Regions from separate parts of the Homo sapiens genome. Here regions 2, 3, 4 and 5 are each linked to region 1. Evidence: promoter capture Hi-C in 16 types of primary human blood cells and fetal thymus (Javierre and others, 2016). All regions are on one chromosome and are shown on one strand. Each heading gives the region's core, a stretch centred on a gene start or on the middle of the fragment in contact. The rest is flanking DNA. Distances are from core to core; before and after follow the strand shown. Region 1 holds the start of CMTM6 (CKLF like MARVEL transmembrane domain containing 6). Region 2 overlaps CNOT10 (CCR4-NOT transcription complex subunit 10). Region 3 overlaps CNOT10 (CCR4-NOT transcription complex subunit 10). Region 4 has its middle 40 kb from the start of CNOT10. Region 5 holds the start of LOC124909361 (a long non-coding RNA gene).

Evidence for each region. Contacts are between HindIII fragments. The CHiCAGO score rates a contact against its expected background, and 5 or more counts as called.
Region 2: a fragment that was not itself captured here is called in contact with the fragment with the promoter of CMTM6 in region 1 in 3 of 17 cell types (megakaryocytes, erythroblasts and M1 macrophages); the score reaches 7.6 in megakaryocytes.
Region 3: a fragment that was not itself captured here is called in contact with the fragment with the promoter of CMTM6 in region 1 in 7 of 17 cell types (megakaryocytes, erythroblasts, monocytes and 4 more); the score reaches 7.7 in megakaryocytes.
Region 4: a contact is called between a fragment that was not itself captured here and the fragment with the promoter of CMTM6 in region 1, in 1 of 17 cell types (megakaryocytes). The highest score is 5.1, in megakaryocytes.
Region 5: a contact is called between a fragment that was not itself captured here and the fragment with the promoter of CMTM6 in region 1, in 3 of 17 cell types (total B cells, total CD8 T cells and naive CD4 T cells). The highest score is 5.7, in total B cells.

What each region holds. Positions count from the first base shown.
Region 1 is chr3:32,501,594-32,504,119 of GRCh38, reverse strand. CMTM6 (CKLF like MARVEL transmembrane domain containing 6) reads left to right here and starts at 1,268. Exons shown (of 4, transcript NM_017801.3): 1 at 1,268-1,512. The coding sequence starts at 1,375. RefSeq lists silencers at 1,168-1,257, 1,328-1,557. The HindIII fragment of the contact is 6,143 bases long and covers 1-2,526 here.
Region 2 is chr3:32,711,956-32,714,481 of GRCh38, reverse strand. CNOT10 (CCR4-NOT transcription complex subunit 10) reads right to left here. Exons shown (of 19, transcript NM_015442.3): 5 at 1,113-1,255. Among named protein-coding and RNA genes, the nearest start is that of CNOT10-AS1, 24 kb to the left of the region's middle. The HindIII fragment of the contact is 158 bases long and covers 1,186-1,343 here.
Region 3 is chr3:32,695,496-32,698,021 of GRCh38, reverse strand. The region is part of intron 1 of CNOT10 (CCR4-NOT transcription complex subunit 10); the gene reads right to left. Among named protein-coding and RNA genes, the nearest start is that of CNOT10, 12 kb to the right of the region's middle. The HindIII fragment of the contact is 2,064 bases long and covers 230-2,293 here.
Region 4 is chr3:32,643,636-32,646,161 of GRCh38, reverse strand. No RefSeq gene overlaps it. Among named protein-coding and RNA genes, the nearest start is that of CNOT10, 40 kb to the left of the region's middle. The HindIII fragment of the contact is 4,319 bases long and covers 1-2,526 here.
Region 5 is chr3:32,369,742-32,372,267 of GRCh38, reverse strand. It overlaps CMTM8 (CKLF like MARVEL transmembrane domain containing 8), which reads right to left. Exons shown (of 4, transcript NM_178868.5): 4 at 1,947-2,384. The coding sequence ends at 2,301. It overlaps LOC124909361 (a long non-coding RNA gene), which reads right to left and starts at 910. Exons shown (of 2, transcript XR_007095859.1): 1 at 1-910. The HindIII fragment of the contact is 3,277 bases long and covers 1-2,526 here.

The DNA.
Region 1 (2,526 bases), core at 19-2,518:
TTACTGGAAGAAGAAAGGGAGGTTTGGGGCCACGGAGAAGATGTAGCAGCTGATGGCAGCAGAAACCCCTTCTCTCTTCCATGGGTTTTGAGACTCCAATGGAGAGATGAGTTAGAAGCTGACGTTTTCTGGGTTAGCGTTTAGCAGCAAGGTTTCGAGTCAGACTGCTTAGGCCTGCATTCCAGCTGCTCCTGGCTGTTTGACCTTGGATATGATTTCAGCCTCTTGGCCTCAGTTTTCTCATTTGAAAATGAATGTAACCGACTTTATACTGTCGAACCTACTTTATATTGTTGTGAACATCCTGTAACTCAATCAACTTCAGTTGCTAAAATATAATTACATTCCTTGACAAGTTCACACAAAATTAACATATGTGACTGTAGCAGTTGGTGACCAAGAAAGAGAAAAAGGAAATGATTTTGAAAAGTGAGCCTAAATGGAATTTCGGGAGACGCGGGAGGGAGCGATTCTGAAAGTCCTTACAGACAACTCATTGTACTTCAAATGAAATACGAATTCTTCCCTTGGTCTGCAAGGCCTCCACATTATCTGGCCTTTGCCTACATCTCCAACATCTCCTTTCCTCCCGTACTTATTCCTAGCGACACAGGCCTTTGGGCTTCAGATTGAGTCAAACTCATTTGGTCCTCGGGACATTTGCACTTTCGTGAAAGGCTCTCCCCAGAACTTTACAAGCCTGGCTTCTCACACTTTGAGTCTCATTCAATTCAAAGATCATGGTCCTCAGAGAGGCCTTTCCTGACCACTCAGTTTAGTAGTGGCCATTTAAGTAGAGCACCCAATTCTCCATCCTTTTTTCCTTCTCCTTCCTCTTCTCCTCCTCCTCCATCTTCTTTTTTTTTTTAATAAATTTATCAAGCCACCAGAAATGCTGAATCCATTATTTTCGTATCATATTTTCACGTCACTTATCACTATCTGAAATTGCTATCCATCTGTTTTCTTGTTTATTGTCTGTCTCTGTTACTAGGGATCCTGTGATTTTGGGTAGTACTTGGCTGTCACCCAAGTACCTAGAACGGGGTTCACTGCACACCGAAAGTACGCAAAAATACTAAGTGAATGAATGTCAGGAGGATGAAAGATGGAGGGAGGTGAGAAATCCATCAAAGGCTCACAGAAAGAACTCAATTCTTGGATGAAAGTCGGAAGAATCCCAACAGCTAACAAGCAAATTTGCTGAGAGGGGGCGGGGCGGGCCAAGGGCGGGGGCGGGAAGGGGCGGAGTCAGGCGGAAGCCGGGGAGAAGGCCCAGGAAGTGACGGCCGCCTCCCGGCTACCGGGGACTTCTGGAGTCCGAGAAGTCAACGGCGCGGTTGCTGCGGCCGCCGCGCTCCCCGGCCCGAGGCGATGGAGAACGGAGCGGTGTACAGCCCCACTACGGAGGAGGACCCGGGCCCCGCCAGAGGCCCCCGGAGCGGCCTCGCTGCCTACTTTTTCATGGGCCGGCTCCCATTGCTCCGGCGCGTTCTCAAGGGCTTGCAGCTGGTGAGTCCGCGGTCAGGGAGGGCGAGCCCGGGCTGGGGAGCGGGGTCTGGCCCGGGCTTGGGAGGCCGCCGAGCTCCTTCGTTTCAGCTTGGTTGTTCAGTAAAAGGAGGTTTCCACACCTCTAGTTCCTTCCCTCTCAGCCTGGGGAAGGGGGCGTTACCCTCCGCCCTTCCGCCGGGCGGCCCCTCAGTCCCAAGGCTCTCCCCATCGGGATCCCACGAACTGGGGCCACCCAGCCTGTTAGGCGGGCTCAGGAAATGCGTCGGAGACCCAAGTCAGCCACTTCAACATCTTTCACTCATCCTCTATGGCGACTTTCCTCTCTTCTCTCTGCTGCTACCCTGCATTATCGCCCACAGTGCCTGTATTTAGACTGTGAAGCGCTGTTTATCTTTCTCTGGCTCTTGCGGTTTTCCTGCTGCGAGCCCATGGGGGCAGTTTAACTTGCTGGACAAAGTCCTGCGATACCACGCGTGGCATTGAGATGTGTGTGTATGTGTGTCCGGTAAATTGTCTTCTAAAAGTTTTATATTGACTGGAAAAGAATTATTTCAAAATTGAGCAATATGGGTTCTAAGTGGAAAGTCAAAAGGACAGCTTTTTGTAAGTATGTGCGGATAGCTGAACTAGGACATGGTATGCATCTTTCCATTTTATTGAGTTTATTTTAAGCAGTTGAAGTACCATAAACCTGTTCGTGAAAACATCAAAGCATCTTTGAGATTTAAATTATTCACTTTACAGTCGTGTTGGCTCCTATGTACTGTTCCAACCACTGATGGTTGAACCAGTTTAGGAAAAATAGAAACAGTTTAGGTTCTATTTCTGCAATAGAACCAGTTTAGGAAAAATCCGAATGCTTATGATGTTTATGAGTTTTGTCTTACTTTGTTTTGTTTTTTAACCATTCTAAGTAAAAATTAGCTCATTGGTTTCCTTGGAAAGAACTTAAATTCTTACAACTCAAATGACCCGAAGTTAAATTCTTAGAACTCTAGTGACCTACTTTTATTG
Region 2 (2,526 bases), core at 15-2,514, 210 kb before region 1:
CCGCCTTGGACTCTCAAAGTGCTGGGATTACAGGTGTGAGCTACCACGCCCAGCCATGTATTTTTTTTTTTTTTTTGAAGAACTTTAATGATGAAATTTTCCCTAATGAAAGCAATAGTGTTTATCCAGGTTATGGATTCTATTGTCTTAATTCCAATCTTTCAATTCTATAAAAATAATAGCTCATATATGAAAAGATGCTCAATGTACATCCTTAGTCATTAGGAAAATAAAAATCAAAACTGTAACAAGATACCACTTCACACCCCCTAAGATAGCTAATTTTTTTTTAAAGATAGACAATAACAAGTGTTGGTAACAATGTGGAGAAATTACAACCTCACAAGTGGCCGGTGGGAATTTAAAATAGTGCAGCCACTTTGTAAAACAGTCTTGTATAGGGTTAAATATAGAGTTAAGATACCATATAACCCAGTGATTCTATTCCTAAATATTATATCCAATGTAACTGAAAACATATATCCACACAAAAATTTGTACATGAATGGTCACAGAAGCACTATATATAATAACCAAAAAGTAGAAAAGAACCCAAATGTCCACCAACTGATAAAGAATTTTTTAAAATGTGGCATATTCATATAATGAATGGAATATTATTCAGCCACAAAAGGCATGAAGTACATGAAACAAAAATAAGTATATGCTAAAATATGGATGAAGCTTGAAAGCATTACACTAAGTAAAAAAAGCCAGTGACAAATAGCCGCATATTATGATTCCATTCATATGTAATGTCCAGACAGTAAATTCAGAGACAGTAATTAGATTAACGGCTGCTTGGGGCTGAGGAAAGGGGGAAATGGGGAGTGACTGCAAATGGTACAGGGTTTCTTTTTGGGGTGATAAAAATATTTTGAAATTAGATAGTAGTAATGGTTGTACAAATGTGAGTACACTCAAAACCACTAAACTCTACACTTTAAAATGGTAAAGCTTATAATATGAAAATTGTATCTTTAAGCTGTTAATAGTTCATAACCACAAACATTAATCATATTTTAATTGCTTTCTTTTTAATCCAGTAAACCAACAAGTAGAGAGAATTAATCACATTTTAGATTTTAGTCTGATCACCTCTAAAGACTCACCTCATTCTTTCCATTTTTGTTATTGTTACCCTGTGAAATCATTTTTTCTAGGACAGCAAGAAGATGCAAAGCTTTCTCAGCTTGGTAGGTTAATATATACAGGTCTACAAGCAAAAAACACACTGCTTGGGCAAATTTTTCTTCTGGGAGAAAAAAAACACAGAAAAGAATAGTCACAACCTAAAGTAAAGCACACATTTCAGACCACCCTCCAAAAAAGTATACAAAGCTTTAAATAGCAAAGCATAAGTCTTTACTCAAATGAATGCCTATCACCTAGAGCCACGAATGAAAGCAACTTGCAATGCCAACAATGTCATTTTACTAGGCACTGCAAGGCCTCTCATTTCAGAAATTCCAGTGATTAAATCTTCCTTAGGAAAATATCTACTAAACACTAGCACATGTAATGAGGAATATTACTTTAGGCGGAAAGAAACCTGAATTCCAATAGAGGTTGTGCATTCCTAACCTGAAATGTTGAAATCTGAAATTTGTAATCCTCCAAAATCCAAAACTTTTTTTGTTTCTGAGATGGTATCTCACTGTGTTACCCAGGCTGGAGTGCAGTGTTGCAATCTTGGCTTACTGCAACCTCTGCCTACTAGGCTCAAGAGATCCTTTCACCTTAGCCTCCTGAGTAGCTGGGACCACAAACATGTGTCACCATGCCTGGCTAATTTTTTCATAGAAACAGGGTTTCACTATGTTGCCCAGGCTGGTCTCAAGCTCCTGAGCTCAAGTGATCCACCCACTTTGGCCTCACAAAGGATAGGATTACAGGTGTGAGCCACTGTGTCCAGCCTCAAAATCCAAAACTTGTTGAGCACCAATGATGCTCAAATAAAATGCTCATGGTAGCATTTTGGACCTCAGGGTAGGAATACTGAACCAGTAAGTATAATGCAAATATTCCAAAGTTAAAAAAAATCCCAAATCTGAAACACTTCTTGTCCCAAGCATTTTGGATAAGGGATACTCAATCTGCACCTATTCAGCCACTAACTAGGTATGTGTGGTCTCTGTACATCATTTAACTTTTCAGACCTCAGCTGGCTGACCTGTCAAATGAGGAGAATATTTTACCTGCCTGAAGGCAGAAGGGTGGACCAGGGGATCTTGTGAGGTTCCTTCTAACTAAAAAAGTCTATGACTCCATGAAATACATTGCTTTTCTAGGTCATGGAGATGGAAAAAAAAAAAAAACAAACAAACACCTGATTACAGAAGCAAAAGCAGCAAGGTATGGGCTGGAGTATATCAGAAAATTGAGACTGCCAAGAGACAAGACCTTCAAAAGAAAAAGAACCCAATGAAGAGAGGAAAGTTAACCTGGTGTGACATAAAACTATCTTTCCTTTCAAAAAAGAAGATAAAAGGAAAAATAAGGTCTAGAAGAGAAAATTTCAAAAGC
Region 3 (2,526 bases), core at 12-2,511, 190 kb before region 1:
TTAGGACCTCAGAAGGCAAGTTATAAGTTTAGATTGAAACAGGATCCTCAATCCACATATTGTCACCATAAAACTTTAACAAAGAATATAAATATCTTTCATGTTTCTTTTATTATTAAAGATTTTATAAAACCTAACATTTTAAAAAATGTGTCTTCTCTCATAAAGAAGCATAATTTAAACCAAATGCCAAAAATTCTTAGTTTGCTATTGAGTTTTCTCTAAAGCTTCTTCTAAAATATGCCCCTTGGCTGGGCAGTGGCTCACACCTGTAATCCCAGCAGTTTGGCAGGCCAAGGAAGGAGGACTGCTTGAGCCTAGGAGTTCCAGACCAGCCTGGGAAACAAAACAAGACCCTGTCTCTATTTTAAAAAATTGTTTTAATTAGCCAGGCATAGTGGCATGTGCCTGTAGTCCCAGCTACTTGGGGAGGTGAGGTGGGATAATCGTTGAAGCCTGGGAGGTTGAGGCTGCAGTGAGCCGTGACCATGCCACTGCACTCCAGCCTGGGTGACAGAGTGAAACCCTGTCTCAAAAATAATAATAATAAAAGATATGAATAAAATAAATAAGTAAAATATGCCCTAGATTAGATGACATTCTTTAATGGGACTTTTGGGACCAACTGTAAGAGCACCTTAGAAATACAGGGCAAAGGGGAAAACCCAACAACTCACCCAGGTGTTGAAAATTTTGAGCTTCTATTCTCCACTAAAAGTAGAGTAGTTCATGTGGCCACTGCTGTTAGCAACCCCAGAAAATGGAAGTATCAGGCTGGACATGGTGGCTCACGCCTATAATCTCAGCACTTTGGGAGGCCAAGGTGGGCAGATCACCTGAGGTCAGCAGTTCCAGACCAGCCTGGCCAACATGGTGAAACCCGTTTCTACTAAAAATACAAAAATTAGCTGGGCGTGGTGGCATATGCCTACAATCTCAGCTACTTGGGAGGCTGTGGCAGGAGAATCACTGGAACCCGGAAGGCAGAGGCTGCAGTGAGCCGAGATCACGCCACTGCACTCCAGTCTGGGTGACAGAGCGAGACTCCATCTCAAAAAAAAAAAAGAAAAGAAAAAGAAAATGTAAGTCTCCTAAAATTCTCCAGAAAAGGAGAGAAGCCAATTTAAGATAAATATATAAGCTGGGCTGGACACACTGGCTCACGCCTGTAATCCCAGCACTTCGGGAGGCTGAGGAGGGTGGATCTTGAGCTCAGGACAACATGGTGAAAACCCATCTCTACCAAAAACACAAAACTTAGCCAGGTGTGGTGGCACATGCCCGTAGTCCTGCTACTTGGGAGGCTGAGGAGGGAGGATCACTTGAACCCAGGAAGTGGAGGCTGCAGTGAGCTGAGATTGTGCCACTGCACTCCAGCTTGGGTGACAGTGAGACCTCATCTCAAAATAAATAAATAATAAATAAATAAATAGATAAGCTGGACTCTAAGGCTGACAAGAGCCTCTGAAATTCCCATTTCTACACACATTTCACAGAACTGAGCTCAATAAATAACCTTTTACATGTTAACGAACCATTATTTTACCTACCTTCTTTAACTTCAGGATGAAAATTTTCTGTTTTTAAAAAAACACACTTCACTACTCAGGAGGCTTAGGTGGGAAGATTGCTTGAGCCCAGTATATGACTACCAGCCTGAGCAATCAGTGAGACCCCATTTCTTCTTCTTCTTCTTTTTTTTTTTTGAGACGGAGTCTCACTCTGTTGCCCAGGCTGGAGTGCAGAGGCACAATCCCAGCTCACCGCAACCTCTGCTTCCCAGGTTCAAGTGATTCTCCTGCCTCAGCCTCCTGAGTAGCTGGGATTATAGGTGCCCGCCACCATGCTCAGCTAATTTTTGTATTTTTAGTAGAGGCAGGGTTTTACCATGTCAGCCAGGTTGGTCTTGAACTCCTGATCTCAAGTGATCCGCCTGCCTCGGCCTCCCAAAGTGCTGGGATTACCAGCATGAGTCACCACGCCCGGCCAAGACCCCATTTCAAATACACACACACACACACACACACACACACACACACACACACACACACACTCTCTTCAACAGGATTATTTTTATTTTCCTTGTGTATTTGTACATTTCTCGAGTTTTCTGCCAGAAATGGGTATTCATTTTTGTAATCAGTTTTTTTAATGTTTTAAAAACATTTATTATTTATAACTACTGACTTCTTACCAGACAGAGTCTGCACATAATCCCACAGCATTTCTTTATTTGCCCAAAAGTAGTCTCCGTTGCCAATTGAAAGAGTATACGACCGTTCACCCATAAGCTTGACTTTCCTTCTACTCTGGCCTAATGAACATGGCTGACCTTCTATGCGTACAGAGCTCTTTGACCCACAAACCTTGACAGTCTTTACACCAATAGACTTCATTTCTAAATAAACAATTGCCTTTAGGTTTGAACTAAGCAGAAAAGAAATGCACCACGTTTTCAAAACTGAAAATCATCAGTTAACTGAAAGCACAGACACATTCCAATACAGAATGTTAATCATTCAAATC
Region 4 (2,526 bases), core at 9-2,508, 140 kb before region 1:
CAGGTTTGTTACATATGTATACATGTGCCATGTTAGTGTGCTGCACCCATTAACTCGTCATTTACATTAGGTATATCTCCTAATGCTATCCCCCTCCCCTCCCCCCATCCCACAACAGGCCCCAGAGTGTGATGTTCCCCTTCCTGTGTCCATGTGTTCTCATTGTTCAATTCCCACCTATGAGTGAGAACATGCGGTGTTTGGCTTTTGTCCTTGCGATAGTTTGCTGAGAATGATGGTTTCCAGCTTCATCCATGTCCCTACAAAGGACATGAACTCATCATTTTTTATGGCTGCATATATTCCATGGTGTATATGTGCCACATTTTCTTAATCCAGTCTATCATTGTTGGACATTTGCCTTGGTTCCAAGTCTTTGCTATTGTGAATAGTGTTGCAATAAACATACGTGTGCATGTGTCTTTATAGCAGCATGATTTATAATCCTTTGGGTATATACCCAGTAATGGGATTGCTGGGTCAAATGGTATTTCTAGTTCTAGATAATAAGGGCAAGTTTTGTTATGACTTTTTCTTTTCTTTTTAAGACAGGCTCTCACTCTGTTGCCCATGCTGGAGTGAAGTGGCTCTATTTCAGCTCACTGCAGCCTTTACCTCCTAGGCTCAGGTGATCCTCCCGCCTCAGCCATCCAACTATCTGGGACTACAAGCATGCACCACCATGCCCAGCTAATTTTTGCAGAAATGGGGTTTTGCCATGTTGCCCAGGCAGGTAGCAAATTCCTGGGCTCAAGCCATTTGCCCATCTCAGCCTCCCAAAGTGCTGGGATAACAGACGTGAGCCACCACATCCTGCCTGTTAGGACATTTTAAGGCAATTATTTCTCCATCGATAAGAGTCTCTAGTGATTTAGTTATCCTTCTCTTTCTGGTGCAGAGAGAAAGACACCTTTAAAAATGGAGATTTCCTTCATAAATGTCAGTTTGTCTTACAAAAGGGTAACTTTTCTGAGCTTCTCCTGTGTCTGCAGTTTCTCAAAAATAATCCTTATGCCAAAGGGGCACATCCGGGATAGCATATTCTGGTCTTCTACCATCATATTTTAGGGTGGCATGTCCTAGGCCCCATCAATAGTATTTTCTATGTGTTGCACTGTGGGGAATTTAACAAAGGCAATGGGTTCTGGCATTGTTAACCCCTCAATAACTAGATGCATACCAGTTTTTCTTCCTACCCAAAGAGGACAGCTGGAGTTGATCACATATGTGGACAACACGGAACGGGATTTTTACCAAGGGCTTACTTACTCAGTGCCAGGCACTGTTCTAAATACTTAACATACATTAATTCATTGAATTTTTTTTTTCTAGCAGACAGGTGTCTCCCCATCCGGAATGCAGTGGCATGATCATAGTTCACTGCAGCCTCTAACTCCTGGGCTCAAGCAATCCTCCTGCCTCAGCCTCCAGAGTCACTAGGATTACAGGTGTAAGCCACCCTGTCCAGCTTAACTCATTGAATCTTAACCATAAGCCTATGACATTTAATTTAATATAATTTAATTATATTTAAATTTAATATAACATAGGTTATATATAACCTATGTTATAATATAATTTAATATAATATAGGTTATATTATATTTAATATAATTTAATATTATATTATATTAAATATAATATAATTTAACTTAATATTATATTAATATAATATAATTTAATATTATATTATATTAATATAATATAATTTAATATTATATTATATTAATATAATTTAATTTAATTTAATATAACATAGGTTATATTAAATTTCTGTTTTACAGATAAGAAATCTCAGGCACAGAGAGGACACGGTAAGAGGTGGAGCCAATTCAAACTCAGGCAAGTTTATACTTTTAATAAATAGGCTGCCTTTTAACATCTAGAAATATATGGGTGCAGCACACCAACATGACACATGTATACATATGTAACAAACCTGCACGTTGTGCACATGTACCCTAGAACTTGAAGTATAATAATAATAATAAAACATCTAGAAAACAGGAGTAGAACCTAAGAAGAGTCAGATCCTCCTAGCTGGTCATTAGGCACTTATGTCTTGACTTACGGAAGCAGAGTGTTGGCATCCTGGGAAGTCACTGACCTCTTTATAGAGCTCGTCCAAGCTAGAGCCTCTGTGCAGACAGAACACATTGCTGCCCTCTACGTGAAGACCTGTATACACTGGGGCAGGAGCAGAGGAGCCCATGGTGCTAAAAAATAGAAGAAAATGGTAAGTAAAAGTTTTAAAAATCAACAGCTCTGAGTGGATTCTCATAGATGAAAACAAGCTCATCCTAATTTGTTAAATTTGGCGACCTGAGGCACTTGCTGCTCAGCTCCTCCACATTGTGTTCCCGCCTTTTGACCATCTCTTCCAGTAGTTGCTGCAGAAACTGGCTGTGAACAAGTGTAAACTAACAATATCTTGCCTCAGCTGCCCTGTGTATCTCTTGCTTTCTGCCCCTGGGGCTTCCGAAAGCCATGCTGCTGAATGGGATGGCTGCAAGAATCTGTTCAGCC
Region 5 (2,526 bases), core at 12-2,511, 130 kb after region 1:
CCAGAAGCAGGCCTCTGTAGGTTACTGTTTTTTCTGACTTTTATGGAGTGTTGTTTGCAACATAAAGTACTTGAAAAACCCACAGGGTATGTGGAAGGTGCACATGCTTTGGTGAGTGTGAGAGGGAGAGCTGGACGGAAGGGCAGAGCATGCCAACTGTGACTAGTTATTTCAGCTTTTCTGCAAAATCAGTGATGACTGGGAATCAGCTCCCCAAAGATCACATCACCAGTTGCCTACAGGTCTGTGTTATGGAAGTTCAGCCTTCCATGGCTTGCTACATTTTGGGCACAGAGTGGCCTTGTGTGCCCCCCGACACCACCTGCTCACACATCCATACCCTACACTCACCTCTCATTTTTGGAGCTTCCTTCCCCACTACCTCTTTGGGCGGGCCTAGTCCACAACCCCAGAACATTCTTCATTGGTACTTTCAAAGGTCTGGGGTGGGTATGACTAGACACTGAAGAAATCTCAACTCTCCTATGTAGGGGTAATCAGAGCTTGGATATGGAATTAGAAAAAGAGAACCAGCACAAACAGAAAAAAACAGCACTGCTAAACAGGTGAGAGATCAAGAGGCAGAGGCCATGGGAGTCATATCAACAGAGCGCACAGCTTCAGCTTTGTTCACGCTCATCAACTACACTAACGTTTCTGTGGTTTTTTGTTTTTCAAAAGCTCATATTGAAAAATCATCCAAGATACACTGCTGTACTAGCAAGAATCGTCCTATCTAAAAACACTTCCTCTAAGTTCATACTGTCTTGCTGATGTGAGTTCTTCTCCTTAACTGATAATATCTAATAATGATGTTATAATATTTTTGCACTGGAGATTTGGAATATTGAAACCTTTTGGTCCAGCAGTGTCTTATTATTAGTTTTTTTTTTTTTTTTGAGACAGGGCCCCACTCTGTTGCTCAAGCTGGAGTGCAGTGGCATGATCACGGCTAGCTGCAGCCTCCTCCTCCCAGGTCCAAGGGATCCTCCTATCTCAGCCTTCCAATTAGCTGGGACCACAGGGGTGCACCACCATGCCTGGCTTATTTTTTTGTATTTTTGGTACAGATGGAGTTTTGCCATCTTGTCCAAGCTGATCTCGAACTCCTGGCCTCAAGTGATCTGCCCACCTCAGTCAGGCTCCCAAAGTGCTGGGATTATAGGCATGAGCCACTGTGCCTGGCCTGGCCCAGTAGTTTTCACAAAAGATAGCACACATGTTACTGTGGTCAGCAATTTTTTTTTTTTTTTTTGAGACACAGTCTTGCTCTGTCAGCAGGCTGGAGTGCAGTGGTGTGATCTTGGCTCACTGCAACCTCTGCCTCCTGGGTTCAAGTGATTCTCCTGCCTCAGCCTCCCAAGTAGCTGGGATTACAGGCACCCGCCACCACGCCCAGCTAATTTTTGTATTTGTAGTAGAGACGGGGTTTCACCATGTTGGCCAGGCTGGTCTCGATCTCCTGACCTCGTGATCCACCTGCCTCGGCCTCCCAAAGTGCTGGGATTACAAGGCATGAGCCACGGCGCCCAGCCAGCAAGATAATTTTAAGATATATTCAATATATTCAGATATTTATCCTTTTAATAGTTATATATTTTTTTATAATGCATATTAGAAAAAATATCACAAGCACGTCAGTCACTGCACTTAGTAGCATAACTTCCCATGAGCTTATCACTGATGTCCAAGGCCAGGTCTGAATAGATGCTTTCTGGGGCAACCTGTTAGCATATGAAAATCATGAACACTGATCTATGATCCCCAGAATTGGGGAGATGAATCTCCCGCCTCTTTGCCCTAAGACTATGGATAAGTGTCACCTGACAATATCATACGATGCAGCCCTGTGAAGAGGGAGACTTCCCAGCCTCCCACCAGCCTTGACAGCCTAGCCTCTGGCTTCAACAGGTAGGTCTCCTTTCTCCAATCAAACACAACATTACTTGGGATTTTGCAACATTTAATCAAAAAAGAATCTGGCATCTTAAAAGTTAGGTTTACAAACTTGACACATTCTCAATATTAGCAATTTATCTATTTAAACATTGTCTAAGAAAATATGATCTATGAAGACATTAATACATTAATAAGATACTTAAGAGTTCATTATAAGCTACAACACTTTGCAAATAAGTATCCAGTTTAATTGTAACAAACCACAATTTGTGAGCAAATTTAAGAATATAAAAAACATTAATTAGTTAAATACAATTCTCTGGGAATATACATTATACCTACAGCTGTTTTTACAGTGAGAGTCTTCCTTTTTTTTTCCTTTTAATTATCAAAATGGTAAATCACTGTATGGTCCTGGATCTCCATGCTATAAAACTGAAATATGTATTTCCAGCGTAGCAGATGGTGACCAGGAAGGCAAAGAACTGGAGAAAACAAAGCATAATAGAAGTGGGGTTTAGGGCACATCCTAATTAGCAAAAGTTATCATTTCACCTCCATTGAATCACCCACTCACTACCTTTTCTTGATACCAGGCTTTGCCATCTAAAACTACTTTATTGGTTC